7 separate regions of the Homo sapiens genome follow, and all the other regions are linked to region 5. Evidence: promoter capture Hi-C in 16 types of primary human blood cells and fetal thymus (Javierre and others, 2016). All regions are on one chromosome and are shown on one strand. The core of a region is centred on a gene start or on the middle of the fragment in contact, and the rest is flanking DNA. Distances in the headings are between cores, read along the strand shown.

Evidence for each region. Contacts are between HindIII fragments. The CHiCAGO score rates a contact against its expected background, and 5 or more counts as called.
Region 1: a fragment that was not itself captured here is called in contact with the fragment with the promoter of STT3B in region 5 in 1 of 17 cell types (monocytes); the score reaches 5.5 in monocytes.
Region 2: a fragment that was not itself captured here is called in contact with the fragment with the promoter of STT3B in region 5 in 1 of 17 cell types (neutrophils); the score reaches 8.1 in neutrophils.
Region 3: a contact is called between a fragment that was not itself captured here and the fragment with the promoter of STT3B in region 5, in 1 of 17 cell types (neutrophils). The highest score is 5.6, in neutrophils.
Region 4: a fragment that was not itself captured here is called in contact with the fragment with the promoter of STT3B in region 5 in 2 of 17 cell types (M2 macrophages and M1 macrophages); the score reaches 5.5 in M2 macrophages.
Region 6: a contact is called between a fragment that was not itself captured here and the fragment with the promoter of STT3B in region 5, in 2 of 17 cell types (neutrophils and fetal thymus). The highest score is 5.1, in neutrophils.
Region 7: a fragment that was not itself captured here is called in contact with the fragment with the promoter of STT3B in region 5 in 3 of 17 cell types (neutrophils, erythroblasts and fetal thymus); the score reaches 7.8 in neutrophils.

Annotation. Positions count from the first base shown.
Region 1 is chr3:30,757,442-30,760,141 of GRCh38, forward strand. All of the region lies in intron 14 of GADL1 (glutamate decarboxylase like 1), which reads right to left. Among named protein-coding and RNA genes, the nearest start is that of GADL1, 140 kb to the right of the region's middle. The HindIII fragment of the contact is 1,384 bases long and covers 632-2,015 here.
Region 2 is chr3:30,627,826-30,630,525 of GRCh38, forward strand. The region is part of intron 1 of TGFBR2 (transforming growth factor beta receptor 2); the gene reads left to right. Among named protein-coding and RNA genes, the nearest start is that of TGFBR2, 23 kb to the left of the region's middle. The HindIII fragment of the contact is 7,422 bases long and covers 1-2,700 here.
Region 3 is chr3:32,383,638-32,386,337 of GRCh38, forward strand. No RefSeq gene overlaps it. Among named protein-coding and RNA genes, the nearest start is that of CMTM7, 6.9 kb to the right of the region's middle. The HindIII fragment of the contact is 6,743 bases long and covers 1-2,700 here.
Region 4 is chr3:30,776,460-30,779,159 of GRCh38, forward strand. It overlaps GADL1 (glutamate decarboxylase like 1), which reads right to left. Exons shown (of 15, transcript NM_207359.3): 14 at 1,720-1,809. Among named protein-coding and RNA genes, the nearest start is that of GADL1, 120 kb to the right of the region's middle. The HindIII fragment of the contact is 1,944 bases long and covers 300-2,243 here.
Region 5 is chr3:31,531,552-31,534,251 of GRCh38, forward strand. STT3B (STT3 oligosaccharyltransferase complex catalytic subunit B) reads left to right here and starts at 1,374. Exons shown (of 16, transcript NM_178862.3): 1 at 1,374-1,761. The coding sequence starts at 1,448. RefSeq lists silencers at 697-956, 1,267-1,496, 1,527-1,656, 1,737-1,886 and enhancers at 1,057-1,196, 2,047-2,106. The HindIII fragment of the contact is 5,534 bases long and covers 1-2,700 here.
Region 6 is chr3:30,649,845-30,652,544 of GRCh38, forward strand. It overlaps TGFBR2 (transforming growth factor beta receptor 2), which reads left to right. Exons shown (of 7, transcript NM_003242.6): 3 at 426-616. Among named protein-coding and RNA genes, the nearest start is that of TGFBR2, 45 kb to the left of the region's middle. The HindIII fragment of the contact is 8,920 bases long and covers 1-2,700 here.
Region 7 is chr3:30,667,514-30,670,213 of GRCh38, forward strand. All of the region lies in intron 3 of TGFBR2 (transforming growth factor beta receptor 2), which reads left to right. Among named protein-coding and RNA genes, the nearest start is that of TGFBR2, 62 kb to the left of the region's middle. The HindIII fragment of the contact is 2,853 bases long and covers 1-2,700 here.

The DNA of each region.
Region 1 (2,700 bases), core at 74-2,573, 770 kb before region 5:
TAAAGACATGAAAGGGAAACCAGTTAGTCTCTTTATGAGCAGGTATATCCTTGCTCACAGAACTCTGGCTGTGTACAGCCTTAAAGCTAATGTAATGCTATTAGTAAATATTGAGGATGATTACAGGCCCATGGATTAGTGGATTTCTGCTTTAAGTTTGCTGTTTATTTTCTAGGGCACATAACCCCCCCACAGAGAATGAGTAAACACAGAAGGACCTAGAATTCCAATCATCCAAATAGTTCTTGGGATTAGTAGATCAGATTCACAAAATCACAAGAATTTGAAGGAGTTCTACAACTCCTACAAATGTAGTCCCCTCCCCTGTTTAAACAGTTCTAGTCCGTATCTTCTGGATCCCAAGACTTCCCTCTTCTCTTACCAGAATACACTAATAGCAAAGCTGCTCAGATTATCAGCAGTTCAGCAAAATCAAAAGGAATATCTGAGCTTAAGATGGGTCAGTTACCCAGTACCAATAAATGCAGATAACACTTATTGAGCATGTTACCATGTGCTGAGTACCATGGTGTTTATTCATTAATCCAAATTTGTTTTCTCAATTCCATGAGTTAAGTATTAAACTAATTTTATAGACGAAACTTCTCAAGATGCAGCAGCTTGCCCCAAAAGCTTCATAGCTTTCATAGTTTCCTGCACAGCCAAGAGCAAAACCAAATCTGGATGATACCAAACTACTCTCTCCAACCATCAAACATCATGCCTTGGCTTTACTCAACATTCTTTGCCTTTGTAGTACATTCCTATCTGCCAAGTACTATCCACATACAGTTGCATGCACCAAGTATGTATTCTTAGTGAACACCTTTGACAGCTTGGTGGAGCACTCCACTCTCTGAAAGAGCCCCTCCTTAGCTGATGAGTTTTCTCTGGGCTATTCTTTGCAGCCTCCCTCCAGCTCTTCCTTCCGTCAGATCTCCATTTCCTACACTTTGCTCCGTATTGCCTTTTATCTTTCCCGTCTTCCCCTCTTCTCAGGAAGAACCACAATGATTGTGCTTGAGAACTTTAGAATCAGACTGGCTCTGAGTAACTGACAAAAAAACATGAGATGGTAACTACCTCATAGAGGGTGGTTGAGAGGACTCTAAATGAGATCATATATGTAATGGGCTTAGCACAGTATAAGATAACATGGTAAATGCTTAAATATAAATGTGGACCTTCTACGAATATATCAACTTGGTGGAAGAAGAGAGTAAAAACTATTCCTGGATTCTTATCACTGAGATAAAGGTTTTCATGGTGACTCCATTCAAGAGGACTCCATTGTATTTCCATAAAGCAAGTATTTATTTATTGCCTCATAATGAAGTACTTTCATAAACAGAATCCTATGCCATCCTTGCCATTAGGCAGCACTTTGTAAAAGCTGGTACAAGTGTCGCCCTTTTGATAGTCTTCCCTGAGCTTCCAGTGGAATATATAGGGGATTTGAGTCAACATTTGATCTCCTTCTAAAGTCCCTTCCTATATTGCAGAGGCTTACACATTTCCAAAACTCTCTTGCAGTTAGTCTGATGTAATTTAAAGTGAGCCAGCCAGACATACCTGCACATAATTTCAAACTTGAGTTAGGTGGGAGAAGAGTCATAATGATTAAAAATCCGTTTTTTTTCCAGTGCAGATCACGATGGAGCTGGTTGGATTTAGTGCTGGCATCTCGTAAGGCAAATCCACAATTCGACAGGCCTCTGCAGATTGGAGCAGAAGCAGCAGCTCCCTGGGCAGCCCAGTTCTAGGGTAGGACTTAGACATCTGTCTCTTTAGCTCTCACAATGATTATGTAAATCTTTAATTATCTATAAATCTTTTTCTTCCAAAATTAGCCAGAGTATATTCTACTCCCTGCACTTGATTTCTAAACAATAGCTAAGAGGAGCTCTTGCCCTTCTTTCTGTACCTCCAGTACTTGTTCCTGCTCATAATTCTTGTTACACTGGACATTTTATTACAGTAACTCTTAGAAACATTTATCTTTTCCTCAAGTTGAAAGCTTGATGGAAGGTGCTATGTCATTTTCACCTTTGATATTTCCCATAGTGCTTGGCACAAAGCATTTGCTGAATTGAACTGAGACACGTTCCCACAGTAACACTGTGGTAAGCTAAAGCCTAATTTTGAATTGTCACTAGGTTTTATTCCACATTTTGTACATTGCTGAACTATGCCTAAACCTGTTTTTTAAAAGTGACCATCTTTATTTGTGGTAGATTAGGTTCTTCAGAAATACGCATATGTATCCTCACTACTTCACTTCCTTAGAAGTAACATTTCCCTGCTCGACTGCCACTGGGTTTGTGCATATGGCTGGATTTGGCTAACTGTAGCATAGTCTCCAATATCTTTTAAGGTTGGGCTTAGTTATGAGATTCACTATGGCCAAGCTAATGTCGGCAGATATAACAGACTCACAAAATGCTCTTATGCAGGTGGACTTGTGCTCTATGCCTCTGTCACTCATAAGAACATGCCTCAGTAAGTTGAAGAAAGATTCACGGAGCCACAGCCACTGCCAGCCAAGTCCAGCCTAAATTAGCTACCTAATATCTCCTTTTTACCTGCAGATTCATGAGTGATAAATGCTTATTGTCTCATATCACTAAAGTTTTGTGATTGTTTCACAGTATTGTCAATAAGTCATGTTTCTAGAGAAATAATTCTTTCAAAGAAAACTTG
Region 2 (2,700 bases), core at 172-2,671, 900 kb before region 5:
TTAAATAGCCACAGGTGGCTCTTGGGTATCATAATGAATAGGGCAGTTATGGAGCATCATTAAAGTCCCCATTCTTCTCAAGTCCCAAAGAGGTCCGTTCAGGTAATTTCTTAGCACCTATAATCACAGTGGGACAGATTAAATTACTTGTACTTTTCCATTCCTGTGCTTTGGAATTATAGGCTGTTTCTTTGTCCTGGAAACCAGATAGTCTAATGTTTGTGGAAATACTACTTAGTAGTGCACTGCAATTATAATACTTTATTGTAGGAGGATGCAGCCAGGCCTTTTTTTTTTTTTTTTAATCATCTGTGTTTTTAGTTTTAATCTTAAAAGGATTATAAAAATAGTACTGCCTTGTGGGAGAAAAATATGCTTAAAGTCTATGAGCATGGAGTGGTAGGGATTATAAACCGTTACAAACTTCTCCTGGAAATTCTGGGGAAAGGGAAGTTAAAGCGGCCAATAGAAATCTCCTAGGAGAAAACTTGCCCTGAAGGGATGCTTTTAATTGGGTTCAGTATTTATCAGAAGAACCCTGCAAAAGTGGTTTCCCTGAAGGCATTTGGATTTTCCCCTGTGAATAAATTTCACCCACCTTGGTCACCTCTGTGCTGTATTCTCCTAGAAACTCACCTTTATTTGGCATGCTGTGACTTAAATCCTCCAAAAAAAAAAAAAAGCCTTTGAAAAAGCCTGTGGGTTTTTTTTTTTTTTTTTTTTTTTTTCTCTAAAATGTTAATTTCCTTTCTTTAGGCTTGTGTGGGCTTTGACTGGAAACTTAATCTGTGTGCCTGGGCTCTGCATTAGGTTTCAGTCATTGAAATGGGGCTTAATAAGAATTACTTGATACCTTAGGAGTCAGACGAGCCTTACATTTATCTTGGGCTCAGGGATTTGCATTTTGAGAGGTTGTGCCAGCTGACATGAGCCTTTACAGGTTTCAGCTTGTTGCAAACCTAGTTGGGTCCATTTCTCTCACTTCTGAGACCTTTTGCTGCTGCCACTCATAGCTAACGTGTTTTCCATGGAACACTACTCCTTGTCCCTAATTGTCTTCTCTCCCTACCTCAGCAGTGACACTACAGACAGCCAGTCATTTAATACGAGACTCATTCCTTAAGAAGTTGGGATAGAACTTTAATTACACAAGGCATCCAAGCCAGCAGTCAGGGCCCTTTCCAATGCGATTACTTTTCAAGCTCTGCCCTGCTTCTCCTTCCATTTCCCTCTGGGCCTTCGTTTTCAGATCTCCTCAGAAGCCGAGGAACGCAGGTCCTTTTGAATTTCTTTAGATCAGTGTTGTCCTATAGGACTTTCTGCAATGATGAAAGTATCCTGTCTATTCCTGGCCACATGTGGCTATTAAGCACTTGAAAATGGCTGGTCTGACTTGGAACTGAATGTATGATTTCATTTAACTTTAGTTAATTTAAATTTATAAATCCATGTGTCCTCATGGCTACTGTGTAGCTCTATCTAGATTATGCCCTTGACTTTTGAACAATGTGTCTTGGGAGAGTTCTCTTGGCTCTGGCCCTCCACTTTCATGAACCAGCTCCTCCCAGTGGGGAAAGAAGAACTCTCTTTGACTTCAGAACTGACTTCCTTTTATTGCTAAGTTAGACAGGCTAGGCCTTGAGCTTAAAACTCTTCACCAACTGTTTATACCCTCCATACCTGGCCTCAACATGTCCTTTTTTCTCTGTGACTATATCCTTATTCTTTATCCAGCAACAGCAAATATGCATTAATTTTCTGCAGATAAGGTTTCCTTTGGAACTTAAGGAAGAGGTATGAAACTTGGCTTTGGAGGACTTAGGGATAGGAAAGCCATCACCAAGTGTTTATAGAGTACCAACCACCGTGTGCCAGCCAATGTTTGAGATTTGGGGAATACAGAGTGAATTAAAGTCCATGTGTACAAGCTAATAAACAAGATTCTATCAACATGTCAGCAGATAAGTACAGCGCGAGGGTCTGAGAACAATGGTAGATGCTTGTAATTTTAGAAGCGGTTGTCAAGAATGGCATCTTTGATAATGTGATATTTGAGCAGTAATTGGTATGAAATCGGGATGAAGAAGGCAGATCTCTGGGTTAAGCGCATTCTAGTTGGAGGGAACAGCAAGTACAGTGTCCTAAAAACAGACTGTGCTTGTCATTTCCTCCCCTCCTCCCCCATGGTTTCTCATTTTTGCTTCTCTTTCTAAGAGTTACATTTATAGGCATACATTTTTACACTGGACATCACAAGAAATTGAGCGAGTTCACAACTCCACTGGTGCTGGTAAAAAGATTATGCTAAGATGGATAAAAGACTATGAAACATAGTCAAAATGCACTTCTCAGTCACCTCTGGCCATACGATTTTACACATCTGGGTTCTCACCCCAGAATGAGATAGGTTTAATAGATAAGATTCAGTGTGGGGCAAATCTAAGGTGCCAAAGTTAGGTACATACTAGAACTTCCATAAAGAGTTGTCTTAAGAAATAGAAAGCATTATAATTTGACTTTGTAGCCAAAGGTCATTCAAAACATTTCAAAGTTTAGATCACTTATTCCAGTTTTATCTCTAGTACTAAATGTTATTTCAGCACACAAATGTGGTCATTCCCCATGGATGGAAGGAGCCAGCTGTGTTCCAGAACTATGTTGGAAGATTGCACCTTGAAGACTGTGTGCATGGTTCTCATT
Region 3 (2,700 bases), core at 165-2,664, 850 kb after region 5:
TTCCCATTGGGACAGATGGGAAAGGTTGACCCATCTGTCCCATCTGGGTTTAGAAATTTCCCAGCTTCACAGAGCTGGTAGGTGGCAGATTTAGGATTTAAACCCAAGGCAGCATGACCCTGACTGCCGAGTTTCCACACATGACTTCTTTCTATGAGCTCCCAGTCTCAAAAGAGTCAACTAAAGTGAGATATGTCACACACTTCCAGTGTGGGCAAAGGGCTGGGTGCACATACAGGAGTCAGGTAACTCACCCACATTTGCCATATTGTCTTGCCACCTATCTAGCCTCATGTAGCATCTCCCACTTCTTTGGACCTCATGCTTAAGCCTGCATGAACTTCATCCCCTCTAATCTGTCATGCCCGAGTACTTACCTGGAACTCTCTTCTCCACCCACCCAAGGCTGGTTAACACCTCTTTATCCTTCAGTATGCAGCTAAGATGGCCCCTCCTCCAGGAAGCCTTCCCTGACTTCCCCATCACATCCCTGACAGGGTAAGGTATCTCCCCATGGGCTCCCATAGTACCCCACTTTTATTCTATCATTAGCATTTTTCATACATATTGCCTGTTTTCTCAGTCTGGGCAAAGAACATGTACTCCTGTGCCTGACACAGGTCCTGGCACTTTGTCAGTGCTCAATAAATATTGCCATGGGGATTGCTCATCACTCACAGAAGGCTTCTCAGAGGCCGTAACATTTTGGCTGGACTTTGTGAGACTGGCGGGCATTTGCCAGGTTAGCAGTTTTCAACCAGGGTCATATACGCATCGAAATCACCCGCGCAACTCTTCCCAAACATGGATGTCCAGCCCCGCCTGAGCACACTGAATCAGAATCTCCAAGGCTGAGCCTGGGCAGGTATAGTTTTCATAGGTTTCACAGGTGATTGCAAATGACAGCATGGGCTAAGGAAAGATAAAAAAGAGATCTCATTATCATCATCATACTCATCATCTTACTGTCAGCAACAGTTCTCAGCATTTGACATATCTTAACCCCTTTGATCCTCACAGTGTTCATTGTCTACATAAAGCACAAATCCTAAGGTGGGCATCCACAGTCCTGTGGTATCTCTCCAGCCAAGGTCCCCAGCCCTTTTCCCCAAGTCCCCACACTCCAGCCACGCCAAAGGACTGGGAATTCCTGGAATCCGTGGTGCGGTTTCATGCCTCCTTTCTTGACATATGTCATTCCCTCTTTTGCCCACCCCATAAATTTTTAATCGCCCTTCAAGACCTAGTTCCAAGCACATATTCTTTTTTGAAACTTTCTCCTCCCAGTTCAAGACAAGCTGGTTACTCCCAGCTTTGGGCCATCCCTTACAGGGATGCTACAGCTCTGCATTAATCCCACAAATATAAACTGAGTACTACTTTGGGCCAGGCACTCTGCTAAATACTGGACACAAACAGGGAGCCGTCTAACCCAGACCTCGACTCCTCCCAACAGAGATGACAGAGATGACGACCACAGCCTCCTCGGTTATCTGACTCTATTTCCCTGTGTTGCTATGGTTACAAACTCCCTGGGGGAGGGAGTTCCTCTTCTGGGAAGTGTTCAGTCAGGCATGTGGAAGGCTCTCCGTAACATTTGCTGAGTGAGGGTTGTGAGCAAATAACAAGGTGAATCCTCCTCTCCTCCCTTCCTCTCTCAGTAAAACTTTTCCCCAGCAGCTCTCAAAATTCCTTGGATTACCTAAATCCAAGAAATCTTTTATTTCACCCTTGAAGATGGTCTTTGATGCTTATGGTTATGGAAATGGCAACGTACAGGAGTCCCTCAGCCCTCAGATAATGAAGCCTCATTGTTCGATACATAAGGACTTAGGAAAAATGATAAAATAGGTAACATTTACTACTATGAGCCAGATGCTACTCTAGACCGTTTCCATATGTCTTATCCCATTTAGATCTCGCAGTTACCCTGAGGGGTCATTTCTATTGTTGTTCCTCTTTACAGAGAAGGAAATGGAGGCTGAGAGAGGCTTGCCCAAGGTTGCACATCTAGCAAGTGATGGAACTAAGGGCCAAACCCAGGCAGTTTGGTTCCAGAGTCCTGCCTCTCAGCCACACAGCCAGGCAGCACAAAGACAAAGGTTTCAGGGTCCCACCTGGCGCTAAAGACCAGGTATCCTGGCTGGCCCCGCTGTGGTGAGTACATGCCGCTCTCCCTCTGCTGGGCCTCAGCCACTCTCTTCTGCTCTGCCTCTCCTTATTTCCTCTCATGGCCCAACCAGCCTCCTGGCTTCCACCTTCTCTCTATGTCCCAATTGCTAAACCCCTCTCAATGCCTCACATTCAAACTCCGCAGGACAGAGGATCATCAGTGGAGCTCCCACTCTTACTAGGCAAAGTTCCCTTATAAGGCCACTCCAAACACTACTGGCCAACCCACTGATGGGCTGCCCTTGGCTCAGGAGCCAGCCTGATGCAATAAATTTCCAATGGATATAAGGCAGCTGATTGGTGATTCTCAGAAGGACCTGAGAGTTTGACTGGTTTACGGAACCTAATAAACTTTTTAAAAATTCACTGGAGGCCAGGCGCGGTGGCTCACACCTGTAATCCCAGCACTTTGGGAGGCCGAGGCGGACGGATCACAAGGTCAGGAGATTGAGACCATCCTGGCTAACACGGTGAAACCCCGTCTCTACTAAAAATTCAAAAAATTAGCTGGGCATGGTGTCGGGTGCC
Region 4 (2,700 bases), core at 22-2,521, 760 kb before region 5:
TTTGTGTGTGACAAATACAAGACAAATCCCCAAAGTCTATGCTACCTGCCTGAAATGGATAAGGGCACAGATATAACACCATCCATCTCTCCACATCTTTGCTCCCTGAGAGGGTTTGATAAGAGGTGTATTCTGTATTGGTCATCTATTATGTTACAGGTTAGGAGGTTTGAGCCATGAATAAACAGAAAATGACCTGAAGCTAAAAGGACACGCTGCCAAGTGAGGCAATCAGTGACCATGACTTAAAGGCTATGTTCTGCCCTCTTCCTTCTAGTTAGACTGGGGCAAAAATCCCAAGCTTTCTGCCGTGGAAGGCAAGGCTCCCATGACCCTCCCTCTGCCTGTTACTCTTCTCACCTCCCATCACTGCTTCTTTGCACCCCTGTGGTCTTTGAATCACATTCTCCCCTCTTGAGCCTCTGAGTTCTCATGCTGTGATTCTTCCTGGAATCTGCTTCTTTAAAATTGTCCCCTGACTGACATCTGCTTATTGTTAAAAACTCAGCTCTAGTATCACACATTGGGGTAGATACCCTTTCTCTCTACTTTCACTGCAAACAGTTAATCTCCATTCAGGTACTTCTTGGTTACCTTGTGATTGTCTCTTTACTCATTGTCTCTAGGAATATTGAGTTTCTCAAGGGCAGAGACACGTCCTTTTGATGTTTGTATTTCCAGTGCATAGTATAGTGGACACTCAGCAAATGTTTGTTGCTTACCTGAGTAGGGAGTCTTTTGTTTTTTGTCTTCTAAGGGGAAAATAGGCTATGGACAATGAAAATTGCTTTTAAAAAAAAAACGTTTTCCCCCTGAGGGTAAGGAGAGGGGTTTGCAAGTCAGAGCTTTTACTAACCAGGGTCATAAAGTCAGCTGTGCTGACTTGATCCCACTCAAGAGGTAGGGAATTGCCTGATTTTAATGGTGCTAGCCCATAAGAACTTGGACTCTACATGTCATGGCCACATAATCCCCAGTGAAACTCCCATGGGTTCACTTTCAGTATGCATTATGTTCATGCATCCAGAAAGTGGGATCAAGTAGTGTTACTCACGAGACTCCATAGTGCTTGGAAATCTGGATTAGAGGCAGGATTATAACTGGCAGGGCCATGCTAGGCGAGGAGTAGATGAGACACAAGCAGTCCCTGGAGCCTGGGGCCTCTCCTCACACGGTATCATCAGCCCCAACAGCTGTGTGTGAAGACACTTCCAAGCACATTTTGTTCGATGATCAGCTGAAACCCACTGCTTAGCATCTCTTTTCTTTTATGTAATCCCCTTGGGTGTAAGACATAGGGCCTTTGTTGAAGACAGTCTCACGCTTACAAAAAGTATCAGATTTAGACTTCTAACATTATTTCCAAGTAAGGTGGTACAACAGTCAGAGATGCAGTAGCAGAGTTGAAATAAATAGTCATTCATCACACAACTTTAACCTTGTGTCCCATGACCAGATGTCACTTCCTGAAGTACACTGTGAGCCAGAACTTCTACCTTACAGACAACCTAATTGTTTTGGGTGTGTGTCAACCATGTTAATTTGTTAAATGTAAACAATGTCTACAACTGTTTGGCCTGTCATTACTTTTTAACAAACTAGAAGACACTTCTCTAGATAATTCTGTGCTTGCTAGGCCCTCTTATTTATAGGATCAACAGATAATGTACACTGAATCTACTTCATCAAAAAGAAAAATACCATTTACTTATTACTTACCAAATTAAGTTTTGCCCAGAACTCGGGTCCTTCTTCCATCTCTCTGAGGCTCGGTGGAATGTACCAAAAGCAAATATTGGCATATTCAGGCTGAGAATTAGAAAAAATATAAAGTTGTTATCTTAAGATTTATCTTAGAATGCAATGAAATACTTTTAAAACTCTTAGCTAGTTTCTTCAAGAGTTATCATGTGTATAAAATTTTAACATCAGAATCTTATAGAGTAACAATCCCTTCTGCCTTCTTGATAACATCCTATTTAAAAATTTTCTACTCCATAGCGTGCACCTAGCAGGTTCTCTTTCATCTTAAATGTGCAAAGATCAGGAAAAAACAGTAAAGTTTGAAGCTGACTCAACCCAGCTCTGATCGTCAGTTAGTGCCTGCTTACATACATGCTCAGAGATGCCCTGGATCCTCTCTCTCCAACACTGATCCTTAAGTTATTTGCTATACCATCATAGGCTTCCAATAATTCTTCTTAAGGCAGCCAAAGTTGGCCCCTACACCTGGCAAATGCAAAAGCTTTGATTACCTGTGAGATGATAACAGCGTGACCTGCTTGGGCTTCACTAACCAGCACTACTATGACCCTAGCCAATACTGCTTTTGAAAAAAGAACATCACCTTGACTCCCGGCTCTCGAATATCAGTAAAAGTGCGAATTAGCTAGGGGACCTATTCAAAATGTAGATTCTCATAGGAACTCAGGTTCCTATGTTCAAAATGTCCAATGTCTAAGTCCATCCTAGAAAAGGCTAAAGAATTGGCATTTTATGAAGCATGTCAAGTGATTCTGAAGCGGGCAGTTTATGTTCTATCAGAAACTCTCATCTACACTAAGTAATCATAACCCAGTTATCTTCCCTGCCAGTCTGTTTTTCTATCAGACATGACTTGCTTAAACATGGGACTGTATTGTAACAGGCTTTAGCCCAGCCTTTGTCACGCAGACAAGGCTTTGTCCTCACTGGACAAAA
Region 5 (2,700 bases), core at 124-2,623:
GTTTAAGCTCATTTTGCCCTGAGTTTATCTGGTAGCACTTTATTTTAGCGGACAAGGAGGGAAGTGGGGAAAGGAAAGGAATTATAAAAATACAAGGTAGACGTGCACAAGAACCTTCGTTCTATTATTATTTAGTAAAGTGAGAACTGGAAACAGCTTAACGTCCAGGGTAAGTTAGTTTCACTCACTCGACGGAATGTATGCAGCCGTTAATGTATTTCTGCATTTTCCCATATTTCCAGTGAACATACAGTACTTTCGCAATTCGGAGTACAAACGAAAAAGGGCGAGAGAAGGTCGCATTTTGCCTGCCGGAGCTAGGGGCGCGCTTGCCGGTTCCAACGAGTTTTCGGTGTCGGAAAACTTGTCTTTGCTCACATTCTCGGATTCCCGCGGCCGCAGAAGCCGGAGGCGGGACGTGAAGGGCAATGAGCAAGGTAGGCTGTGTCACTGCCGCCGCGGGCTCACTCGCAGCGCCAGCCGAGGAGCGCCACGGGCTGCTGAACCCCTCGGCCCGACCCACGCGCCGAGGGCTAGGATAATGCGCCTGCGCGGCCGTCACGTGGTGAGGGCTCCGCGCAAAGCGGGTTAAAAGTCACGACCGCGGAGAGCCCGCGAGCGTCCTGCTGGTCGGTGCGGCGCTTTCCGCGTCCTTTAAGACGAGTTTGACCGAGGCCGCTCCGCAGTTCCCGCCCCTCGGCCCAGCTCAGCTCCATGAACCTAGCGGAGCCGCCTAGTACCCTTTCTCGCCGACCGCACAGGCGCGCGAAACCGCGTCTTTCAACTGACAATGAAGCCGTAGCCGCGCAGCTCGGCCACTCCGGGCGAATCGGCGCGAGGCCGGGATGGTGGGGGGGAGGGGGAGACGGTTGGGTCAAGCTCCGCCCCAGCTCGCGCCCCTATTGGTGGGCGCAGCGGTTCTGGGCCCGCCCCCTAACGGACCTGTCGCTTTGTGACAGGCGGAGGGGCCAGTTCCTGTCGGGCCGGAGGCGGAGTCAGAGGTTGCTTGAGCTCCGCCCGGACTCCAGGGGGCTCCTCCCCCTGCTCCTTTCGGCTGGGCGGGCGGCGGGCTAGAGAGGGAATGTCATTGCTTCTCAGAGCCGTGGTGCCGCCTCCGTCTGCTGCTTCTTTCCTGGCGCCCTCGTCCCGTCGGCTTTCGCCGCCGCCGCCGCAGCTGCACTGGGGATACGGATGGCTAGTGGGGCGCCGGGGCCATCTGGGTTGAGAGAGCGGCGATTGCGGCCGCTGCTGAGGCGGAGACTCCCCGCCGCCGCTTCCTCCACCCCCAGTCCGCCGGCCTCGCGGCGCTGAGGGCGGGAGCGCGCAGAGCTCTTCCCTCCTCCTTTTTCTTCCTCCTCCTCCTCCTCCTCCGGGTCCCCGCCCAGCACCCCTCGCACCAGGCGGCGGCGGCGGAGGAGGAGAGCTAGACCCGCCGCCGGGGCACAACATGGCGGAGCCCTCGGCCCCGGAGAGCAAGCACAAGTCGTCCCTCAACTCGTCCCCGTGGAGTGGCCTCATGGCCCTGGGAAACAGCCGGCACGGCCACCACGGGCCCGGGGCCCAGTGCGCGCACAAGGCGGCGGGCGGCGCGGCGCCGCCGAAGCCGGCCCCGGCGGGGCTGTCCGGGGGGCTGTCGCAGCCGGCTGGGTGGCAGTCGCTTCTCTCCTTCACCATCCTCTTCCTGGCCTGGCTTGCCGGCTTCAGCTCGCGCCTCTTCGCCGTCATCCGCTTCGAAAGCATCATCCACGAGTTCGACCCGTGGTAAGTGCCTCGCCGCCCCTCCCCCGCCCGTGGCCCGCGGGGAACCGGGACCCGCTCCTCCGCCCGCCGCAGCTCTCCTCGACTTGGCCCCGCGCCGCCGCGGAGCCCCGCTCGCGTCCTGGCTGAGGCCGGCGCGGATCCCGGAGCTCCGGGCGCGCCCCCTGCCCGTGGGCGAAGTTTGCCCCGTGCAGCCTGAGGCGGGGCGTCGGGGTCCAGGAGCGAAACCTTGATTCTCGGCCGGGCTAGTGTGAAGACTGCCAGGAGTGTGGATGCAGCCGCCGGGAGTGTGGGTGCAGCCGCCGGGAGTGTGGGTGCAGTCCCTCGCAGCCCGCTTTGGTCGCTGAGTCCGGACCCGCCACGCCAGGAGGCGGCAGGTAGCTCCTCCGCGGACTGTCGGTCGATTCCCCGCCCTCCTCGCCCGCTGCTTTCGCGTTCTTTCATATTTGCGGGCGCGTTTTTGCTAGTTCAGACGGAATCGGCCAGGGGGGCTGCCCTGTTGCCGCTGGAGGTGGGTCCAGATGTGCCGGAACCCCGGCTGCTCACCCTTGCAGTTTTACGCTTTTACTGTTTCTTTTTATGCTCTCATGATACGAGAAGGGAAAAGGAGAGTGAATGGCGTGTTGGAGGGAAGGAAATAATACCCCTGAAAGTGATCTGAAAGCTAGCTACTCTTATTTATTTATCATTAGGTATTTTAAAGAGTGGCTTTTTTTCAGAGCTCTTAAGTGCACTCAGCACCTTACTGTTTCACTATCGTCTTGGGTTGCTTTTTAGAACAAGATCCTTACCCTGTTAGCCACTGTCACCCTTAGTGTGTTATGCACAGTATCTGAAAGCATTGCATTAGTTCCTTTATTGGTCTGCAGGAAGGTTTGTGGATAAGAGCAAACAGTACCACGGTGATGGGAGTCCTAGATTGTAATACCGAAGTTGCACATG
Region 6 (2,700 bases), core at 103-2,602, 880 kb before region 5:
ACTTAAACTAGGGGTGTGATGTGAGGTTTGCATTACATTCAGGATGGAAGATTTAAAATTATCCTGAGTACCTAGGAATGTTCTTTTTTTCCATGTCTTCCCCTTTAATGATTTAATTAAGACTTAAATATGTAAAGTTCTCCACCAGGACTGCCCCGTGGAACGCTGTCTGCTCCAGGTGATGTTTATAATCACAAATGGGTTCCAAGAATAAACAAAGGAAAAACAGAAAAGAGTAGAAAAGCATAGGAGACTATAGGACAGCCTGCGAATGCTGGAGAACAGGAACCAGCTGCCGTTGTTAGGAACAACTTCATGAAGGAAAAGTATTCCAGATTGCCTTTCTGTCTGGAGGCCATATTATTCATTTATTCTCTTTCTCTCTCTCCCTCTCCCCTCGCTTCCAATGAATCTCTTCACTCTAGGAGAAAGAATGACGAGAACATAACACTAGAGACAGTTTGCCATGACCCCAAGCTCCCCTACCATGACTTTATTCTGGAAGATGCTGCTTCTCCAAAGTGCATTATGAAGGAAAAAAAAAAGCCTGGTGAGACTTTCTTCATGTGTTCCTGTAGCTCTGATGAGTGCAATGACAACATCATCTTCTCAGAAGGTGAGTTTTCTTCTCTTAAGGGTGTGGGACCTGAGATCTGTGCCAATTTTTTGTATCCTTGGTCTGCAGTGTCATAGAGCACATTCCTCCTGTGGTGGATTGCATACAGTGGATTAGGAGCTCATTCAGCTGGTGGAAAGAGGGGCTTGGGGAGTAGCAGGGTTTGTTCTGGTTCTCATCAAATATGGTTGACTGGGGCAAACATTATTATTTGTCTTTGACAAATAGTTTCTTTCACCTAGAGCAGTGTTTCTCAAAGTGCGGCCTCTTGAGCAGCCAGCATCAGTATCACCTGGGAACCTGTTATAAATGCAGATTCTCAGGCCCCACTAAATGAGAAACATAGAGGGTGAACCCCAGCTATCTGTATTTTAACAAGCCCTCCCAGTAATTCTGTGCAGCTAAAATTTGGTAACTATTGTTCTAAAGATTTGGATGGGGTTGTTTAATCTTGGAGGAGGACTTTCTTTATAACTGATGTTGTTTCTTGTACATAGTCCCAGGATTTGTCTTTAGGGTACTTGTCATCGATCCCATTTGAGAGAAACATTGCAATACAGAGAGGAAATAATAAGCCAAAGTTTACCCCTAGAGCCAGGAGAAGAGTAGATTAGATACTAGCCTCCATCTTTGAAGTTCAGCGTTTACTCAGCTTGAAAGGAAGGCATACACTATTCCCTCAATTTTTAATAAGAAGAGAATTCAGTGGTTTTTAATTACAAAAGTAGTATATGCTCGTCATCAAAAATTTCAAACAATCCAACAGTGTGTGAAAATTAAAAATGAAAGTACATTTTCGTCCTCCCCTCACTCCCAATGCAACAGATCATCTGTATTGACAATGTATTAGATGCACACACGTCTCTATCATTCATTCATATTATCTCCCACTCCATCCTCTCTCCCAATCTCTCCCTGTCTTCCTTTCTCTTTCCCTCCTTTCATCCATCTGTCCATCCTTCCATCCACTCATCCATCTTTCAGTACAACTATCTGATCATACTATAAATATTATTTTGCAACACTTTTTTATACCCAACCACTTTTACAATTCCTTCTAAACAAGATAGAACACATAGATATACTGTACATCTTTTAATTTAGTCTCGAATTTCATATTATCTCCCACGATGGATCTTATCATGTCCCTGTTGATGGATTGTCTTCAGTTTTTCCACTTAATGCTACATTGAATATCTTTGTAAAAATATCTCATGCATTTGTGCTAATATTTCTGCAAGGCAGATTGCCAGAAGTGAAATTTCTAGATTAGAAATATGTGTATTTTAAATTTGAATAAGCACTACTAAACTATTCTCCTCCTGAAAAGGATGTAAGCATATGGATTTCCGTGTACCTTCTCCAACACTGGGAATGGATAAGTCTTTTAATTTTACCAGCGTGGTAGTGTAAATGTTAGTTTAGTCAACAATAGGTCTGATTTAATTAAAAAATCTTTTTGAAATACAAATGCTGGCTCTACACCCTATCTCTGCGGCCATGTGCATTCCACCTGCGAGAAGCTATGTGTCCTCGTGTTTCGTGTTTGGTGCTCAGTAGCACTGCAGATCCAGCTTGTTCTCTTCCTGTGTCCTTCACCTACTGCCATTCTCCCTATCTTCCTGTCCAACATCCCCCAGGCCAACTTCTCAGTGAACTGAAGGCAGGCATGCACATCTTGTCAGGGCAACGCTTTCCAGATTACTCTTCCTTCCTATGTTCTCATCCTCATCCTGTAAATGGTCCATTTCTCTCGTTTTCTTTTCTGGTTGTTTTTTTTTTTTTTTTTTTTTTGACGGAGTCTCACTCTGTCGCCCAGGCTGGAGTGCAATGGCACGATCTTGGCTCACTGCAACCTCTGCCTCCCAGGTTCAAGTGATCCTCCTGCCTCAGCCTCCTGAGTAGGTGGGACTGCAGGAGTGTGCCACCATACCCAGCTAATCTTTGTATTTTTAGTAGAGACGAGTTTCACCATGTTCGTCAGTCTGGTCTCGAACTCCTGACCTCAGGTGAATAACCTGCCTTGGCCTCCCAAAGTGCTAGAATTACAGGCATGAACCACTGTGCTTGGCCTCATGTTCTTT
Region 7 (2,700 bases), core at 73-2,572, 860 kb before region 5:
TAAGTGTAAGTCTTCTAAAGAAATAACAGGAAATTTTAGGAGAAAGTAAAACTTTGGTTTCTGACATTGAACTGGGGATTTCTAGAATCTTCTTCAGTCAGTGCCACACATAAACTTAAGGGGATTTCTGTTTTTGTGTTTCCTTTAGGCTAAAAAGGAATTGAAATTAGCAAATACGACTGTTTTTATAGATATTTAGGAATTGTAAAATAAAATTATCCATGATGAATCAACATTTCATCTGGACGTTTTAGTGAATTAAGGACAAAGCTAAGTAATTATGCAGTTAATATTTAAATTTTTTCAAATTGTATTTCTCATATGTGAAAAAAAATTGACTACATATTCACATTTGGCCAAAGTGAAGTCTCTCCAGATTCTGCCAATGAGGTTATTAAAATAACACCTCTAGAACAGGGGTCAGCAAAGTTTTTCTGTGAAGGGCCAGATAGTAAATATTTTAGGCTTTCTGGGCCAGATAAGATCTCTGTTGCATGAACCTCTTAGTTTTATTGTTTTTTAAACAACTCTTTAAAAATGGGGATGGAAATCATTCTTAGGTCATAGGACTATACAAAAGCAGGCCATGGACTTCTGAGCCATAGTTTGTCAAACCTTGCTGTAAAATATAAAAAATTTGAGAAGTATCATTCCACGTAAGTAATCATTCAGCTTCTAAAACAAACGTTTGTTGAATACCATAAATTGCCCCATTCTGCCCCAGGTGCTGTGTATATCATGATGATCAAAACAGACCTGGCCACTACCCTGCTTTGTCAGGAGAGAAGCAATCAGATAATCAAGTGGATTTCTGATTATAAGACATTCCATGTAGTTACAGACACAGAGACCGGAGACAAGTGGGTACTTCAAGCAAACACATTCATTGGATACCACATATAATAGAGGTGGAGTTTCAGGCAGGGAGCATTGTGGAAGTGGTAAGCCTAAGTGGAAATGCCGACTGCTGGATCGGCTGTTGTGTTTGAATTTGTGTTGTGTTCATCTGCCCCCTTAATTTTGTTTGCTGTACAACAGGGACAGTCCATACATCTCCACAAGAGCATCTTTTTTTTCTTTTGCATTCAATCATTCTGTAATTGCTTTGTCCCACCCCATTTCTGCCCTACTCTTGCCTGTTCTTTGTCCCAATCCAAGCCTCCCAGTGTAAGAATTTATGTTTTTAAGGATCAATCACCAAATTTTCTCACTTTCCCTATACTTTTAAAATGCATTCATATATCTTTCCAAAAAATGGTGATTTTTTTTTTCCCTCTTGGTTGCTGGAATTCTGATATCTTGGGGTTACTTCTCTGGTTACTAGACCCAAGATTTTCATCTAGAATATATAGTCAGTGGAAGTTGGCATTTCCACTCAGACTTACCTTAAGAACAAGTAATCATATTACACATAAACCTTAAAAATGGATATGTACCAGCTTCATTTCTCACTGTTTCGTTAGATGAAAGTTTCAGATGCTGGGCCAAGCGCAGTGGCTCACGCCTGTAATCCCAGCACTTTTGGAGGCCAAGGCGGGCAGATCACAAGGTCAGGAGTTCAAGACCAGCCTGGCCAACATGGTGAAACCCCGTCTCCACTAAAAATACAAAAAAAAAAAAAAAAAAAAAAAAAAAAAAAGCTGGGCATAGAGGCTAAGGCAGGAGAATGGCTTGAACCCAGGAGGCAAGGTTGCAGTGAGCAGAGATCGTGCCATTGCACTGCTGCCTGGGTAACAGAGCAAGACTCCATCTCGAGAAAAAAAAAAGAAAGTATCAGATGCTGAAGTAGCTATGTAGACTGGGGTATATAACCTGGGGTTCATCATCATGAGCCAGGAAAATTTAGGATATGAACACACATGAGGAGTTTAGGAGTGGAGGTTTAATAGGCAGAAGAGAAGAGAAAGAGAAACAATTCTCTCTGTAGAGAAAGGAGTCTCCAAGCGGAAAGGACGGGCCAGTGGTGAATGTGCTGGATTTTATAGTCCCGTTTGAAGAGGCGGTGTCTGATTTACATAGGGCTCACAGATTGGTTCAATCAGGTATGACGTTTACATAGTGCATGGGGAAGACTGGTCACCCCACCCTAATCTTATTATGCAAATGGGCTTTCCAGTTGATCAGCACCATCTGGTCTGTTCTTTGTTGTACACATGGCTGACAAAGAGAAGGGAAGATGGAGCTGCCATCTTGAACATGTCCTTAGTTCCTGCTGGCATTCACCCGTGCAAGCTCCCAGCTTGCCTGTCTATGTCTGAAGCTCAACTTTACAGGCTGCTCTTTGTTAGAAAATGATTTGGGGCTGCTTTTCATTAAAAAGAAACACCTTACCGAGGACTTCCATACCCTTACTATCTGCCCAAGTAATTTCTTCTTAACTCCTTTATCAGTATCATTTAGGTAATGGGTTCCCCTTGAGAGAATTTGGTTATATCCTCATTCTACCTGGACTATATTCTCATCACTTTTTTTTTTCTCTTTAAACACCTACTGTAGGTGAAAACTGACAAATGAATAATCAAAAGATCCTTTTCTGACACGGAGTTTGGTTCCATACCACCTACCCATTTTTTTCCTTTCTATTCCGCAGGTGCAGAGTGGTCAGTATGGGATAATTGCTCTTCCTTAAGTAGATCATATATTCTTTCTCCTTAACATAGCACTCTTTCCACTCATCACTGACTTTTCCCATTCTTCAGA